Linked DNA regions of Homo sapiens: regions 1 and 2 are each linked to region 3. Evidence: promoter capture Hi-C in 16 types of primary human blood cells and fetal thymus (Javierre and others, 2016). All regions are on one chromosome and are shown on one strand. Each heading gives the region's core, a stretch centred on a gene start or on the middle of the fragment in contact. The rest is flanking DNA. Distances are from core to core; before and after follow the strand shown. Region 1 has its middle 6.6 kb from the start of OTUD1. Region 2 overlaps PIP4K2A (phosphatidylinositol-5-phosphate 4-kinase type 2 alpha). Region 3 holds the start of MLLT10 (MLLT10 histone lysine methyltransferase DOT1L cofactor).

Region 1 (4,906 bases), core at 353-2,852, 1.9 Mb before region 3:
ATATCAGCCATGGTGGCTCATGCCTGTAATCCCAGCACTTTGGGAAGTCAAGGTGGGTGGACTGCTTGAGGCCAGGAGTTCAAAACCAGCCAGGACAACATAGTGAGACCCCATCTCTACAAAAGAAAAAAAAAATTAGCCAGATGTGGTGGCCCACACCTGTGGTCCCAGCTACTCCAGAGGCTGAGGTAGGAGAATTGCTTGATCCCAGGAGGTCGAGGCTGCAATGAACTGTGACTGCACCACTGCACTCCATCCTGGGTGACAAAGAGCAAGACCCTATCTCAAAAAGGACATAATTAAAAATTTATAAACAGGCTGGGAACAGTGGCTCATGCCTAATCCCAGCAACTCAGGAGGCCCAGATAGGAAGATTGCTTGAGCCCAGGAATTCAAGACCAGCATGGGCAACATAATGCTAGCTACTCAAGAGGCTGAAGCAGGACGATTGCTTAAGCCCAGGAGTTTACGGCTGCAGTGAGCTATGATCACGCCACCGCACTCCAGCCTGGGTGACAGGTCAAGATCCTAGCCCTAAAAAAAAAAATACAATAAATAAAAAAAAAAAGGTATAAATAGAAGAAAGACAACAGCAGGGACACACTATGAAGGATTATATATGGTAGGGAGGAAACAAAATATTAACTAGGCCATGACAAATCAGCTCCAATTTTGAGATTTAATATAGCCAACCCATTTGTTTTCTGAATATGTCACTGCACACACTCAGAGATCCCTTAATCAGACAAATCCAGGATACCACTAAACAATGAAAAAAGAAGACAAGGCAAGCAGCAAAAAAGCACTCTGGTTGACCAAAAACTAAAGCTTAAACACATTACTTACAGCAGAGCATCACAGTTCTGAATTAGAAACTCATTTCTAGTATGACAGGTTGTGTTATTTAAAAAAGAGAAAACCATTTCTTATGATTTTAGAGTCAATTCTGACAAGCACATTGATTAGTGTCTCTAACTGAACATAGAAAATCATAGTGGGAATTGAGGTTGGAAAGTGACAATGGTAAGAGCTTTTATAATGCGAGGAAGTAGACAGGAAAAGTATAATCACAAAGATAAAATTCCCAGCACTAGCTGGGCGTGGTGGCTCAGGCCAGTAAACCAAGCACTCTGGGAGGCTGAAGGGTGAGGATCACTTGAGCTCAGGAGTTTGAGACCCCATCTCTACCAAAAATAATAATAAAAAAATTAGCGAGGGAGAGGTGTGGGATGGTGGCATGCACCTGTGGTTCCAGCTACTCAGGATGTTGAGATGGAAGGATCGCTTGAGCCCGGGAATTCAAGGCTGCAGTGAGCCATGATCATGCCACTGCACTCCAGCCTGGGCAACAGAGTGAGATCCCATCTTGAAACAAATTAAAAAAAAAAAAAGTCCTAGCACTCTGAGATCCCTTTAAGTACAAATGAACTGTCACATTTCAGCCATCTGCAAGCACTAAAGCACTAAATGATTAAACCATATTTAGTTTTTTTGTTTTTTTTTTGAGACGGAGTCTCGCCCCGTTGCCCAGACTGGAGTGCAGTTGCGCTATCTCAGCTCACTGCAACCTCCGCCCCCCGGGTTCCAGCGATTCTCCTGCCTCAGCCTCCCGAGTAGCTGGGACTACAGGTGTGAGCCACCACGCCCAGCTAATTTTTGTATTTTTTAGTAGAGGCAGGGTTTCCCCATATTGGCCAGGCTGGTCTCAAACTCCTGACCTTGTGATCTGCCCACCTTGGCCTCCCAAAGTGCTGGGATTACAGGCGTGAGCCACTGTGCCCAGCCTCATATTCAGTTATTTTATAAAGAAAAATTAGTACACCATAAATTACTTTTTTTTTTTTTTTTTGAGACGGAGTTTCACTCTTGTTGCCCAGGCTGGAGTGCAACGGTGTGATCTCAGCTCACTGCAACCTCAACCTCCCGGGTTCAAGCGATTCTCCTGCCTCAGCCCCTATAGTAGCTGGGACTACAGGCACCCGCCACCACGCCCAGATAATTTTTCTATTTTTATTAGAGATGGGGTTTCACCAATGTTAGCCAGCTGGTCTTGATCTCCTGACCTTGTGATCCGCCACCTCGGCCTCCCAAAGTGCTGGGATTACAGGCGTGAGCCACCGCGCCCGGCCTTTTGTTTCATATTTTACACAAAAAGGAACTGTTCAATTATTTAGAAAATTCAATTGTGAGAAACAAGGCTAGATAAGGTTTTACTGTAAGTTAACTGATGACAGTGAACTCTCCCTGACCTTTACTCATAGAATCATTGTCATTGATCTAATTTACAACAGGAAGAAATACATTTTTTTCCAACAGCTGTTCTGATCTGATTTACACTACTTGCCTTGGTCCCACTGACCAATGACATAAGCTTGCAGCCAGTATTATTGAACACAGCAGTCGTAACTCATGCTTGAAATCTGTTCAACATTTCCTTCTCAACCAGGCTACAGAGAAAACAGTCACACTAGGAATTGCTAGAGACTGGATGTGGGATGGCAGTGACCCCCAAAGCAAAACAGAGCAAGTCATTTTGGAGAAGGCAACACCTTCAAGATCACAGCAGATTAGTGAAGTTCTATTTTTAAATAATTACAGTTGACCTGGTTTCTCAAGATGTTTGGAAGATGACAGAAAGATAAAATCAATGAATTCTCATTTTTGGTTTCAAAAACCATTTTGTCAGTTACAGAATTCAATACTGCAATATCTTTTTCTATTATTTGAGTTTAAAACGCGCATAATTACTTTGTCATTAATAATTCCCAGTACCTTTAGAGTCAAGTTATTTTCATTTAATTTCACATTCTCCAACTAAATATTTTCCAAAGCTCCATTTCCCTTCAATTAATTCCTTCATTCAAAAATTTGGCGGGGTGTAGCGACTCATGCCTGCAATCCCAGCACTTTGGGAGGCCGAGGTGGGTGGATCACTCAAGGTCAGGAGTTGGAGACCAGCCTGAACAACATGGCAAAACCTCGTCTCTAATATTAAAAATACAAGGCCAGTCACAGTGGCTCACGTCTGTAATCCCAGCACTTTGGGAGGCCAAGGCAGGCGGATCACGAGGTCAGGGTATCGAGACCATCCTGACTGACATGGTGAAACCCCATCTGTACTAAAAATACAAAAAAAAAATTAGCTGGGCGTGGTGGCACGCACGTGTAGTCTCAGCTATTCAGGAGGCTGAGGCAGGAGAATCACTTGAACTCGGGAGGCGGAGGTTGCAGTGAGCCAAGATCATGCCACTGCACTCCAGCCTGGGTGAGAGCGAGACTCCATCTCAAATAAATAAATAAATAAATAATAAATAAAAATACAAAAAATTACTTGGGCATGGTGGCAGGCACCTGTAATCCCAGCTACTCGGGAGGCTGAGGCAGGAGAACTGCTTGAACCCGGGAGGTGGAGGTTGCACTGAGCCAAGACCACACAATTGCACTCCAGGTTGGGCGACAAAGCAAGACTCTGTCTAAAAAAAAAAAAAGAAAAAAGCAATTTACTGAGCACTCGCTCTGCTAGGTACTTGGGTTTGAACCCAGGGATTCAACAGGGAATGTGCCTATTGAGCTTAGTAAATTTGGGAAATCAAACTGAATTAAATGTCATCTAGTTTCTCAGTGCCTCTTTGAGATAGACATTCTAGGGATGTACAAAAAAATGACATCTGAACTTAGGATGTAACAAATAACTATTTAATGTGAACATGCTACATACTTGAATTTATCCAGTACATTTACCTACATATCAAATTATCAAACGTCCAAAGGATTACAATCTATTTTTCTTCCCTAATGCCTTTCTTCCACATGAGCACTAAATGTCATGGTAAAGTGCTAATGATTCTCAAAATGCAAAACTTGGAAAAAAATTGTATAACTTTTTTTTTAGGAAAAGCACATAAGATAAACTTGAACAAAGTAATGAAATTATCTCCAGATTTTCTTTTTCAAGGCTGAGTGTGTGATTCACACCTGTAATCCCAGCACTTTGGGAGGCTGAGGTGGGAGGATTGCCTGAGGCCAGGAGTTCAAGACCAGCCTGGGCAACACAGGGCGAACCCCCGCCCCACCGACCTCTATGAATAATAAAAAATTAGCTGAGCATGGTGGTACATGCTTATAGTCCCAGCTACTCAGCAGCCAAGGTGAGAGGCTAACTTGAGCCCAGGAGGTAGAGGCTGCAGTAAGCCATGATTGTGCCACTGCACTCCAGCCTGGGGGACACGACAACACCCTGTCTCAAAAATAATAAACAAAATGTTAAAATTAAATTTAAAAACAGGACTGGGCAGGGTGACTTATGCCTGTAATCCCACCACCTTGGGAGGCTGAGGCAGGAGGATCACTTAAGCTCAGGAATTTAAGACCAGCCTAGGCAACATAGTGAGACTACATCTCTACTAAAAAATTTTTTTAAAAATTAGCTGGGTGTGATGCTGGACGACCGTTGTAGCCCCAGTTACTTAGGAGGCTGAGGTATTCGGGAGAATCACTTGAGCTCTGAGGTTGAGGCTGCAGTGAGCCATGACTGTGCCATTGCACTCTAGCCTAGGTGACAGAGGGAGACCCTGTCTCAATAAAAACGTAAGAAAAAAGAAAAGAAATCAGGACTTGGAATCCTAATTTGAAAATGAAACAGAACACAGAGTAAGCTACCTAAAACAGTAATAGGCTTACAGAAGGCTTTTTAGGAATTCTTGTGTGTTCTACTCATACTTGTATAAAATTTTAAGCATCTCCAAATGTTATACAGCTCTAAATAAAGTGGAGAAAAGGGGTAGCCAGGTAATTCAAATAATAGAATTTCTTTCTTCCCAAATTACTTACTGAAGCCATGAAGCAAAACTTACCTACACAAAAATCCAGAGATCTGTGATTAGTAAACATTTAAACCGTTGACAAA
Region 2 (4,976 bases), core at 1,183-3,682, 1.0 Mb before region 3:
GGGGGTTGTCAAGCTTTTTAGGCCCTCAATTCAGCTAATGCTTTAACCGCCTTCTGTAAAATTCCTTTTCTTCCGAGATAGAAGGGAATCATTTCCCTTTGCCAGCCAGTGTTAGTTAGGGACACCAATCCTACTACCCAAAGTGCAGGGGAAAGTTTCCCACTAGGGCAGAAGCAGGGCTTCTTTCTCAGACCTTAAAGGTGGCACCAGTAACATCTACCTTCTGGACCAGAGACATTTTATAAAAGGGAGATTTGGGTGAAGGACTCCAAACAGAGGGTTAGGGGATCTGAGTCCCAGCCCTGGGGGCACAGGGCTGCATTAATGGGGTTTGAGTATAGGTCATCTGACTTTGTCCTCGTTTGTAAAATTAAAGGATTTGCTTGCGTCATTGCTCCTCATGCTGTAGTGTTGGTGAGAATCTCTTGTTTCAAATGAAGCTTTCCTGGACCTTCCTCCAGAGATGTGGTTCAGCAGTCGGCCCCACTTGGAGAAGTCCTGGCCTGACCATCACTAAAATCTTCTCTATTCCAGATATAGATTAAGGTGATTGCTATGATTGATGGGGAAAAAAATGTTCTGTTCAGCAAATATAGATAAGAACCCCATAAACCATGAGGGGTATTCTGGAAATGAAGTTTTAAAGCTTCATTTAGAATATCTCGTAACTGGTAAGCATGGCACGTGACAAAAAGAGAGGATCACATGCAGTGACTCTTGTGAGCACTTTCCAGATTTTCACTCAGATGACAGCATTAAAATCCTCAAGGCTTTATGACTTATGGCTTATGGTGCTTCATCAGCTCTCATTTGCCTCAGATTAATTTTTATCTCACTGGAATGAAATCAACTCAGAGTATCCCAAGCACACGTGGAGCACTGCTGTTAGGTATGGGAATGTTTTCACGCTAACAACTCGTAGTTGGTTCTAGAAAAAGTTGGGGTGGAGAGAAGACTTCCAAAATTCAGTATGTGGTCTGAATTTAAACCAAGCTGCTACAGATGTGTAATTCTTAATTAAATAATGATCTTTAACATGGTAGTATTAAACCAGAGATCTAGAGGAGTTAGCAAACTCCTTGAGTGTTCAGCCTTTGACATTTCTTAGATTATCACCATAGATATCTGCGCACCAGAATCTTCTGTTACGACTGGAACGAAGCCATCCCGTAGGTCCTATTTTGTAGGTCTTGTATGCAGTTCAGCTGTCATATCCCAGTTTGTGGAGGAAGACCAAACCGTCACCTTTGACATTACCACATAGAGTTGTCATAAAATATGACAGTATTAAAAAAGGAATAAATTTTACTTTTTACGTATTAGCTTGAGGGAAAATTGCCAACAGCTAGGTCTTGCCAGCCCTAACAGTTATAACTTAACGCTTCTCCAGTTTTGCGCGGCTTACTTACAGCACTGTTTCACAAGTATGTTGAGGTATATTCTCTTTCCACATTCATACATAAACAGATTCAAAATAAAAATTATAAGATGTTCACATCTGGATGCTAGTCACAGATGTGCACATTCTCACTGTTTTCACTGTGAAAATTAGAAGTTATTAATGACCTCTTAGATCATTTCTCAAACCATGAACTTGTATAGACATTCTGCTTATGTAGTTAAAGGAGGTTGGCATATGTACTATTTGTGCAAAACCACCCTTTTTCTTTGCTACTTCTGTATGAACTTTATCCGTATCCACTAATTTGCCTTTTGATGTATCAAATTTGTGGCTTAGATGTTCCAAGAAGCAGAACTGATTTTATTATAAATCTCCAGCATCTCTTATTACCCCAGAATTGATACCAAATATGTTACTCCATCAAATTATTTTTATCCTAGCTCCAACATAAGGATTACCTAAAATTCCTTCCCTTATAGAAATACTTGTGAATTATGTTTTCAGTTCCATAGATGCTGATTTTTATGAAGATTTTTGCAAGCACGGCAAAAGGGGTTTTATTCTTTTTTGCAAGTTTATTTTCATTTGGGTGAGCTTGGAATTACAAGTAAATCAGGAACACAAGCAGTTCTAACATAAAACAATAATTACTACGTATTTTTTATGTGGAGCATTCAGCTCTGAGTGTCACAGTGACAGCGTATCAAAAGGACACCCGGCAGCAGTCTTTGACATTGAGGCTTACAATTAGACTTAAAAAATAATAAATAGGTTGCCAAATGAGCATATCAAACAAAAAATTCATTCCGAAATACAAGTCCTTTAATCACAGAGTACTATGATATGTATTATCCTTTGCATTAAAACCTAGTGCCAAAATCCTGTTTGCATTAGACACTCAAGTGTGACTGGGTGCATTTCTTCTTCCCAGTAAAGTTTCCATCCAGACTAAAATAAAAACTTGGCTCTATATTATAAAGATTTTGGCTCTGTGCATTTTAGGTTCATGTATTTTCTATTTCCAGTTATTAATGGCCATTTACCCATACTGTTGGCTCTTGTTGTATAATTAAAGTTTAGAATGATCATTAAAAATCCAATGATATTTTAGTTTGAATTCTGTTTAATGTTTCAAACTATAGTTTGAAATTTGTGATTTTTAAAAATTTTGTGTCATCTGAAAGATAGTTTTTTAAAATCTCACTAAAATAAAATGTTCATATAACTTCTGGCTTTACTAAACCTTAGAATATCCAATATTGCTCAACTCCATATGAATGACAGCAGTTATGCATCAAATTACAGAACCTCATGAAATAAGCACATATGTACACATACACGTGAGTTAATTCCCACTTCAAACAAACAAAGCATTTAACTCTTTTGGTAAACACATTGTTTTGGTTTTGGTTTTAGAGATTCTGCAAAAGTTCTTAGTCATTTGGAATTTTTAAGCATAAAAGTACTAAATAATATTAAGCAGGAATTTTTTAGGTGTTGCTTTTTAGCTCCTTTTTATCAGTTCTGGGAAGCAAACAGTGCTGCATCTCCTTTGCTCTCATAGAATTCTGTAATTTTTATACCACAGGTCTCTGCTAAAAGGCGGCATGTGTTTAGAAATTCTAAAAATGAGGGCTCTGAACTTTGTAACTGTCCTGATACGTTTTCCCTTTTTTAATCCCAACCCCCTGGCCAAATCTGTCCTTAGAGATCATTGATACCTTGTATTGAACCCTAGGGCGTAAGTAATTCCGTTGAGAGGCTTTTATACACTGAAAGCCTTACGCGTGTGTTGGTTATCTTCAGGCTCTGACTCAGCTGAGTGTGCATCTCACTTCGCACATTCATGTTGTGTCTTAATGACACACAAACTATTTTTGACCATGACCTGTATTGTCACACAGTGTGTTTCTTACTGTTGACTTACAGTAGACTTGCTGAGGCCTGTGATGCTGTGCTTTAAAAGCCAAAAACTTTGCAAAATGAGGGAGAAATGTCTATAATAAATGTATTATATATACACAAATGTTTATAATAAATTTTCTTTTTACAACTCATAGCAAGTTAAATGTTCCCAGTGGGTTCACTGCTCCCTAGGAGTGAGTTCACCATTCCCTAGTATTTTGGTTATATTTTCTGGCTACTAAGATTTCAGCTTCTGTGGATTTTTGCTTTAGGTCAGCAAAACAGCATTCACTAAATTATCCACTATTATAATGTGCTGAGAAAAAACTAACCCATGGAAAATTAAGGTAAGACAGAAGTCAGCAAATTTCTGTCTTTGGCCAGATACGTAAAATCATTACATTTTATTCCATATATTGAATAAAGATCATAAATTTCAAATTCTTTATTACTTCAGGAATTTAACCAGTCCAATTTTTATGATAAGATAGGGACATTTTACTCTCATTTGGGTTTCAGTTTAAACAAAAGGTCTTTTCAGTGAGGTTTCCTACTAGGAATAGCTTTTGCAGGTGATCACAGAGGTTTTTCTAGCTGGTAGCATTCACAATTGAGGTTTGCAAAGCAGTGTAGGGAACTAGAGCCGCCACGACAGGGAGGTTGGCGCCTCGGGCCATGTCACCTTCGATGCATCCTGTCTCATGTGCCCTCTGTGTTCCCCGTGGGTCCTGTGTAGTGAAATGAAATACTAACTTTGCCCTCATGTATGGTAGGTTTGTGTGCAGTGTGCAGTGACAAAAGTGTCTTCCAAATTTGAAGACAGTATGTAGAGAATTCATGTGACATGTTTGTAACTAGCAGATAAAACCTAAAAACAAAGGAAATTTTAAACATCGTTTAAATAAAGCTTGTCGCTCACGGGCTGCATGGGGCCCAGGACGGCTTTGAATGTGGCCCAGTACAAATCCGTAAACTTTCTTAAAACATGATGAGATTTTCTTGTGATTTTTTTTTTTTTTTTAAGCTCATCAGCTCTCATTAGTGTTCACTGATTCTATGTGTGGCCCAAGACAATTCTTCTTCCAGTGTGGCCCAGGGAAGCTAAAAGATTGGACCCCCAGGTTTAGATTACCGACATCATAAATTGTTTTTTTTTTTTAATTATCCAGGTATCAACTAGAAGGTATCCTAAGTTTAAAGACCCTATTTTAGAAGAAATAGACATAGCAAGTTACTATTGCCAGGCACTATGTGCTTTGTGTCATTTGATTTACACACTAACCCTATTACATAGGTACAGTATTATTAATTACCCATTATATAAGTAAGGAAACTGAGGTTTGGGCAGACTAAGCAACTGGCCCAGAACATCACAGCTAGTGTTAAAATGTTAAATATGTCAGTATATTTTTTAAAAGAAAAATCTTGCTCTGGATTGATCAGCGATGCGCTTTTCCTAGATCCATAAGCCATACTTGAGAACATGATTAGCATATAACGACGTTTGTATATAACACACTGTGTGGCAGGCACCATTTTAGGCCTTTTTACATGTGTGAACTCATGCAACCCTCACAACCCTATGTTTGCAAATCCCCCTTTAAAGATGGGAAACCAAGTCACAGAGAGGTAACTTAACTTGCCAGAGTCACATAGCTAATAATTGGAG
Region 3 (5,000 bases), core at 1,217-3,716:
TACTGGGAAGGCTGAAGTGGGAAGATGGCTTGGAAGGTCAAGGCTGCAGTGAGCTGTAATAGCACCCTGCATGCCAGCCTGAGCCACAAAGTGAGACCCTGTCTCAAAAAAACAGAATTTGTAAAATGTGTCTCACTATAAATGCTCTATCCGTCAAAAAACACAGCATAGGTGTCCAAAACACAGCATCATTGCCCAAAAACTTTATTCAGGTGTACTTCTAGGAAGGAAAATTTAAGATTTGAATAAAAATTTTCTATATTGGGACATAGAAATTATCAAATTTTGATAGTTTATCATCCAATTCATAAGAAATTCCAATTCATAAGAAATTCATTGGCCTTCAAAATGCCAATGAACATGGGATGACCTTAAAATCAGTATCTGGTTTGACACGCATTGTATTCACTCCCTAAAAAAGCAAGACATGCAACTTGGCTCTTCTTTAAAAGTCTAGGGCCAGGCGCAGTGGCTGACGCCGGTAATCCCAGCACTTTGGGAGGCCGAGGCAAGAGGATCACCTGAGGTCAGGAATTTGAGACCAGCCTGGCCAACATGGCGAAACCCCGTCTCTACTAAAAAATACAAATTAGCCGGTGTGCTAGGGTGTGCTTGTTATCCCAGCTACTCAAGAAGCTGAGGCAGGAGAATCAATCGCTTGAACCCAGGAGGCAGAGGTTGCAGTAAGCTGAGATGGCACCACTGCACTACAGCCTGGGTGACAGAGCAAGACTCCGTCTCAACAAAATAAAAAGTAAAAAAATAAAAGTCTGGGAATAAACAGCATTCTCAGAGTAAGTACACTACCTCAGAATCATCACCACTGCTTCTAAAGTCTCCCTTTCCAAGTGTGACATTCGTTTCTCTACAAAATGCACTTTAGCAGATGTTCAAATTTTCGTCTCCCTTTTGGTGGTAGTCCTTTCCAACAGACTACTAAAAACATATGCATCGCTTAATGCCAGATTCAGAAATGCGAAGGGACATGGAGCCACCAAAAAAGAATATAGACTGTTTTGTCCTGGATTCCTTACCACGTGAAATGGGGAAAAGTCGGCCACTTCAAAGGCCAGAAAAGTATCTTACTAGTGTCCTCGGCCTTCTTGTATATCCAAAAACCTCATCAATTGTTAACAACCAGAAATAAACTAAGAGGCTCCCCAAAAGTGACTTGGCACCGCCACCTCTTCAGCCACCTAGGCTGGTGGTGGCCTGCCGCGGCCACCCCACAGGCGCTGCAGCAGCCCCGCCACTCCCGCATGGTCAGCAACGGACTCCGCCATCTCCTCCGCAGACAGCTACCGGGCGGCGGCGGCAGGGCCCGAGCCTTCTGGCTCGGGGTGCAACGGGCCCCGCATCCCTCCCCATCTAAAGAGGCAAGGCGACCCCCAGCCTCCCCACACTGGCGCCGCGTTCCCGAGCCCGTCTCCACGCCACAGGAAGTCTCCAAACACTGCGGCAGACAGGCGGCTGCAGGCCAGGGGAGAAGAGGGCGCTCCACTCTCCCAAACCCACCCCCGTGGCCCCGGGAACCCCGGGAAGGGCGCGCACCGCCCCCGCCCCCGCCCCCGCCCCCACCCCGGCCCAGATCTCGAGGGCGCGGCCGCCGCCCTGCCCCGCCCCGCCCCGCCGAGTCAGCAGACCCCGGCCCCAGGCGCAGGCGGCGGCCGAATGACACTTGAGAGAGTGAGAGCGGAATCACATGACAGTCCGGGCCACACGCACTTTCTCCCACATGCGCGGCCCACACCCCCCGCGCCCCGCCGCGGACCCTCCGCGTCCCTCCCGCGGCCGCGGCACGGGGCGGGGGCGCCGGCGGTTGCGGCCCAGGTGGGGGCGGCGGTGACCGTTGGGCGCAGGCCGGCGCGCCCCGGCGGGCGGTTGGGTGTTTACCTTGATGCACCGCGACGCTGCAGCCGTGCCCGTCGCAATAAACCAGCGGGTTCTCGGCCCAGCCTCTCTCGTCTGAGCAAACGCAACAGCCTCCAATCATCTCCTTCATACTATGGGAGACCTCGTCCTCCAGTGACACGGGCCGGTCGCTAGAGACCATCTAAGAGGGAGTTGGGGGGACCATTAAAAAACACATGCAAGCCGATTAGTGCTTCCCCCCCACACAGCCCCCCGAGCCCGCCCCGGCGCCCCCCGCCCGGCCCGGCAGCCCACCGCTCGCTCACTCGGGCTTTGCCGCTCAGTCACTCACGTTCCGCACAGGAGTCAGGAGCCATGTCCTTGCTGATTCCCCCCACCTCCCCTCCACCGCCTCCTCCGCCTCCTCCTCCTCCTCAGCGTCTTCCCTCCCCACCTCCACCCGGCCGCTAACGCGGGCGCCCGGAGAGGGCACACATAATCAAGAGGGCCTCCGCACAGGCGCACTGGGGGGAGGGGGGGCTCCCGCTGGGCCAGGGGCAGCGAGGGAGGGGAAGGGGGCTGCGCTTCCTCCTCGGAGCGTCACTTGGCGTGCGCGCCCGTCCTGCGGCCGGCGTGAGGGAGGAGGCCTGGGCGAGGCTAGCCCTGCGTGCGCGCTGCCGCGGCCTGTTGGCTGCCCCCGGCCTACCTCCGGGGCCCCGTCCCCCTCCCCCGCGCCGCTCGCCGCCGCCGAGGTGTGCTGGGGGTGGGCGCGAGGGGAGCCGGCGGCGCGCGGAGGCCGGAATGAACGGGCGCGGGGGCGCGCACGCGGGGGCGGGGACGTTAGGGCCGCCCTCTGCAGCGCTGGTGGCGCGGGCCGCGTGTGAGCGTCGGGAAGAGGCCTGGGAGGTGGCGGGGGAGGTGGACGCCCAGGGCTGGGAAGGGGTTTTCTCAGAATCGCCAGAGGGGAGTCCCCGGGGGCATCATCTCCGTGCCCTGGGAACCTACCTGCTGGCCTTTTCCTCCAAGACTGGCCCGTGGAAAACGAGGGTGGGGCGAGTGTGCCAGCTTCCATGAAGGGTGTAATGAAGCATGGCTTCCTGCAGTTGGCCGCGCTAACTTCACAGTGCTGCCGCAGCCACTCCACCCATTAAATTCACGTCCTGGACTCTTCCCAAAGTTCACCCGCTGGAAGTCCTACCAAATCTGCCGCCCATTTTCGCACTACGTGGGCCCCAATGACAAACGAAAGTGTATTCCAGGCTGAAGGTCAAAAGCCTGTGTTAGGGCTGCACTCGGAGAGGGAACGCCAAGGCGCCCCTCAGCTCGGTGTGCAGGACAAATGGTGGTTTATCCGGAATTAGCAATATAATACGATGATCCGGAAAATGCAGTTGTATTACACCAAAAGGAAGAAGGAACTCTAGCCCTCCTAGTCAGTCGCTAAAACATAATTAACGCCATCAGACAGTGGCGTCCAGTTTTGATGGAGGATTCCTCTGATCCGGGTCTTTTCTCCAAATTTATACTTGGAAATGTGAGGTCATTTAAAAGTGGCAGAAAGATGAGAGCTCCCACCTCACAAACAAATGGAAAATGGATTAGGCCTATCTGCATAGATTAATTAGCTGGATGCTGAGCACTTTTAAACTAAAATCTTCCACTGTCTGCCTATTCCTTATGCATCCGTAAAGCCCAATATTGATGTTTAAGCAAAAAATGTCTAATTAGAAAAGTTTCGCATGAAATCAGAATTATGCATAGATTGTTTAAATGACAAGCCCAGTTAAAAGGCGAATTCATGACTTTTGATTAATACCTTGCAGGTACAAAATGGTTCTTTATCAGCAATTCGCATTATAAATGTGCTGATCTGGAAGATGCACTTTCACAGTGCTAAAGCATAGAGAACCCAAGTTCTCCTAGTCGGTCGCCAAAAGATAATATAATGGTTTGGGCTTTAAAAGCCTTCTAAATGTTCTTCTGATAAAGGGGGGTTAGAAAAGGTATCATGGCTGTTTTTCTATTTCAAATTAATTGCTAGAAATCTGTGTAAGAGTGATAATAGGTATACAGCACAATGAGAGCATATATAGCAAATTCAGATGTTTTAAAAGCTGAGATATACAAAGTAATGGCAATTAAAATATACACTAAAACAATGAGAATTCACATAGTGCATTTAGAAAAGGTGACTACAAGACTACATAATATGAATTCTTTTTTGGGATGTGACAACAATTAATACATTTCTGGATATATAATAATTATATTTTTTAACTACCTTAAAAATTTATGAAACTAAAACGGGCTTCAAACAAAACTATACTGTCTTGTGTATCTTAACCATATATTTTATCTTCACCCTTATACAAAGGATACCAGCTCAATATCCAAGTCCTGTTCAGACTCTTACTATAGAGCAATTCTGAGTTAAAAATCAGTGTGAAACTTCCCCTCCCAAACACTGCAGCCAAGCCTTAATGCATTAAATTATTTAAAAACACATTTGTTTTATTTTTAATGCATTGGAGCTTAGTTCTTGTGAAGGAATTAATTTGTATGTAAAGAAGGATGGGTACCTTGCCCTATTCTTTAACACTTAAAACAAATGTAAGTAAACACTTGCTATTTCCTAAACAAAACAAAAAAAATGTATCATTTGTAAGAGGTTTCAGAAATTTTTAAAAATAGGGAAAATGTATTATTTCATAACAGCCTGTATATAAACAATAGTATCTGAAACAAATTTTGTTAAAGATGTATACATAAGTGTTCACAAAATATAATTCAAATTATTTAAAACTGATTTTAACATATGTTGAGTATGAAAATTATAAGAAAAAACATGAGTGTAAATAACTCATTTTCATTTTAACTTGTACCAGATATCAAACTTTTTCTTGTATATCTGAAGTATAATATTTTGTATATTTCTATAAAATGTTAAGTGAAAAGGAAGAAAAGCAGACAGTATAAAACAGTAAAACAGTTCAAATACACAATTAATTATTCATTCAGTAAATATTTATTCAACATTTACTGTGTACTGGGGACTGTTTTGGATATGGGGAATATAGCAGTGAGAAAGTTGTATTTGTCCTTTGTGAGACATATATATATATATATATATATATATATATATATAGTCA

The links. The method cuts DNA at HindIII sites, captures the fragments that hold promoters and counts their contacts. A CHiCAGO score of 5 or more calls a contact.
Region 1: a contact is called between a fragment that was not itself captured here and the fragment with the promoter of MLLT10 in region 3, in 1 of 17 cell types (neutrophils). The highest score is 5.3, in neutrophils.
Region 2: a contact is called between a fragment that was not itself captured here and the fragment with the promoter of MLLT10 in region 3, in 1 of 17 cell types (total CD8 T cells). The highest score is 5.5, in total CD8 T cells.

The regions. Positions count from the first base shown.
Region 1 is chr10:23,443,180-23,448,085 of GRCh38, reverse strand. No RefSeq gene overlaps it. Among named protein-coding and RNA genes, the nearest start is that of OTUD1, 6.6 kb to the right of the region's middle. The HindIII fragment of the contact is 1,543 bases long and covers 831-2,373 here.
Region 2 is chr10:22,555,250-22,560,225 of GRCh38, reverse strand. All of the region lies in intron 6 of PIP4K2A (phosphatidylinositol-5-phosphate 4-kinase type 2 alpha), which reads left to right. LOC124902393 reads left to right here and starts at 4,931. Exons shown (of 1, transcript XM_047426113.1): 1 at 4,931-4,976. The HindIII fragment of the contact is 3,568 bases long and covers 649-4,216 here.
Region 3 is chr10:21,531,698-21,536,697 of GRCh38, reverse strand. It overlaps MLLT10 (MLLT10 histone lysine methyltransferase DOT1L cofactor), which reads right to left and starts at 2,466. Exons shown (of 23, transcript NM_001195626.3): 1 at 2,178-2,466; 2 at 1,894-2,053. The coding sequence starts at 2,053. RefSeq lists enhancers at 1-492, 756-1,468, 2,184-2,897 and silencers at 1,529-1,618, 1,759-2,098, 2,209-2,278, 2,289-2,818. The HindIII fragment of the contact is 10,036 bases long and covers 1-5,000 here.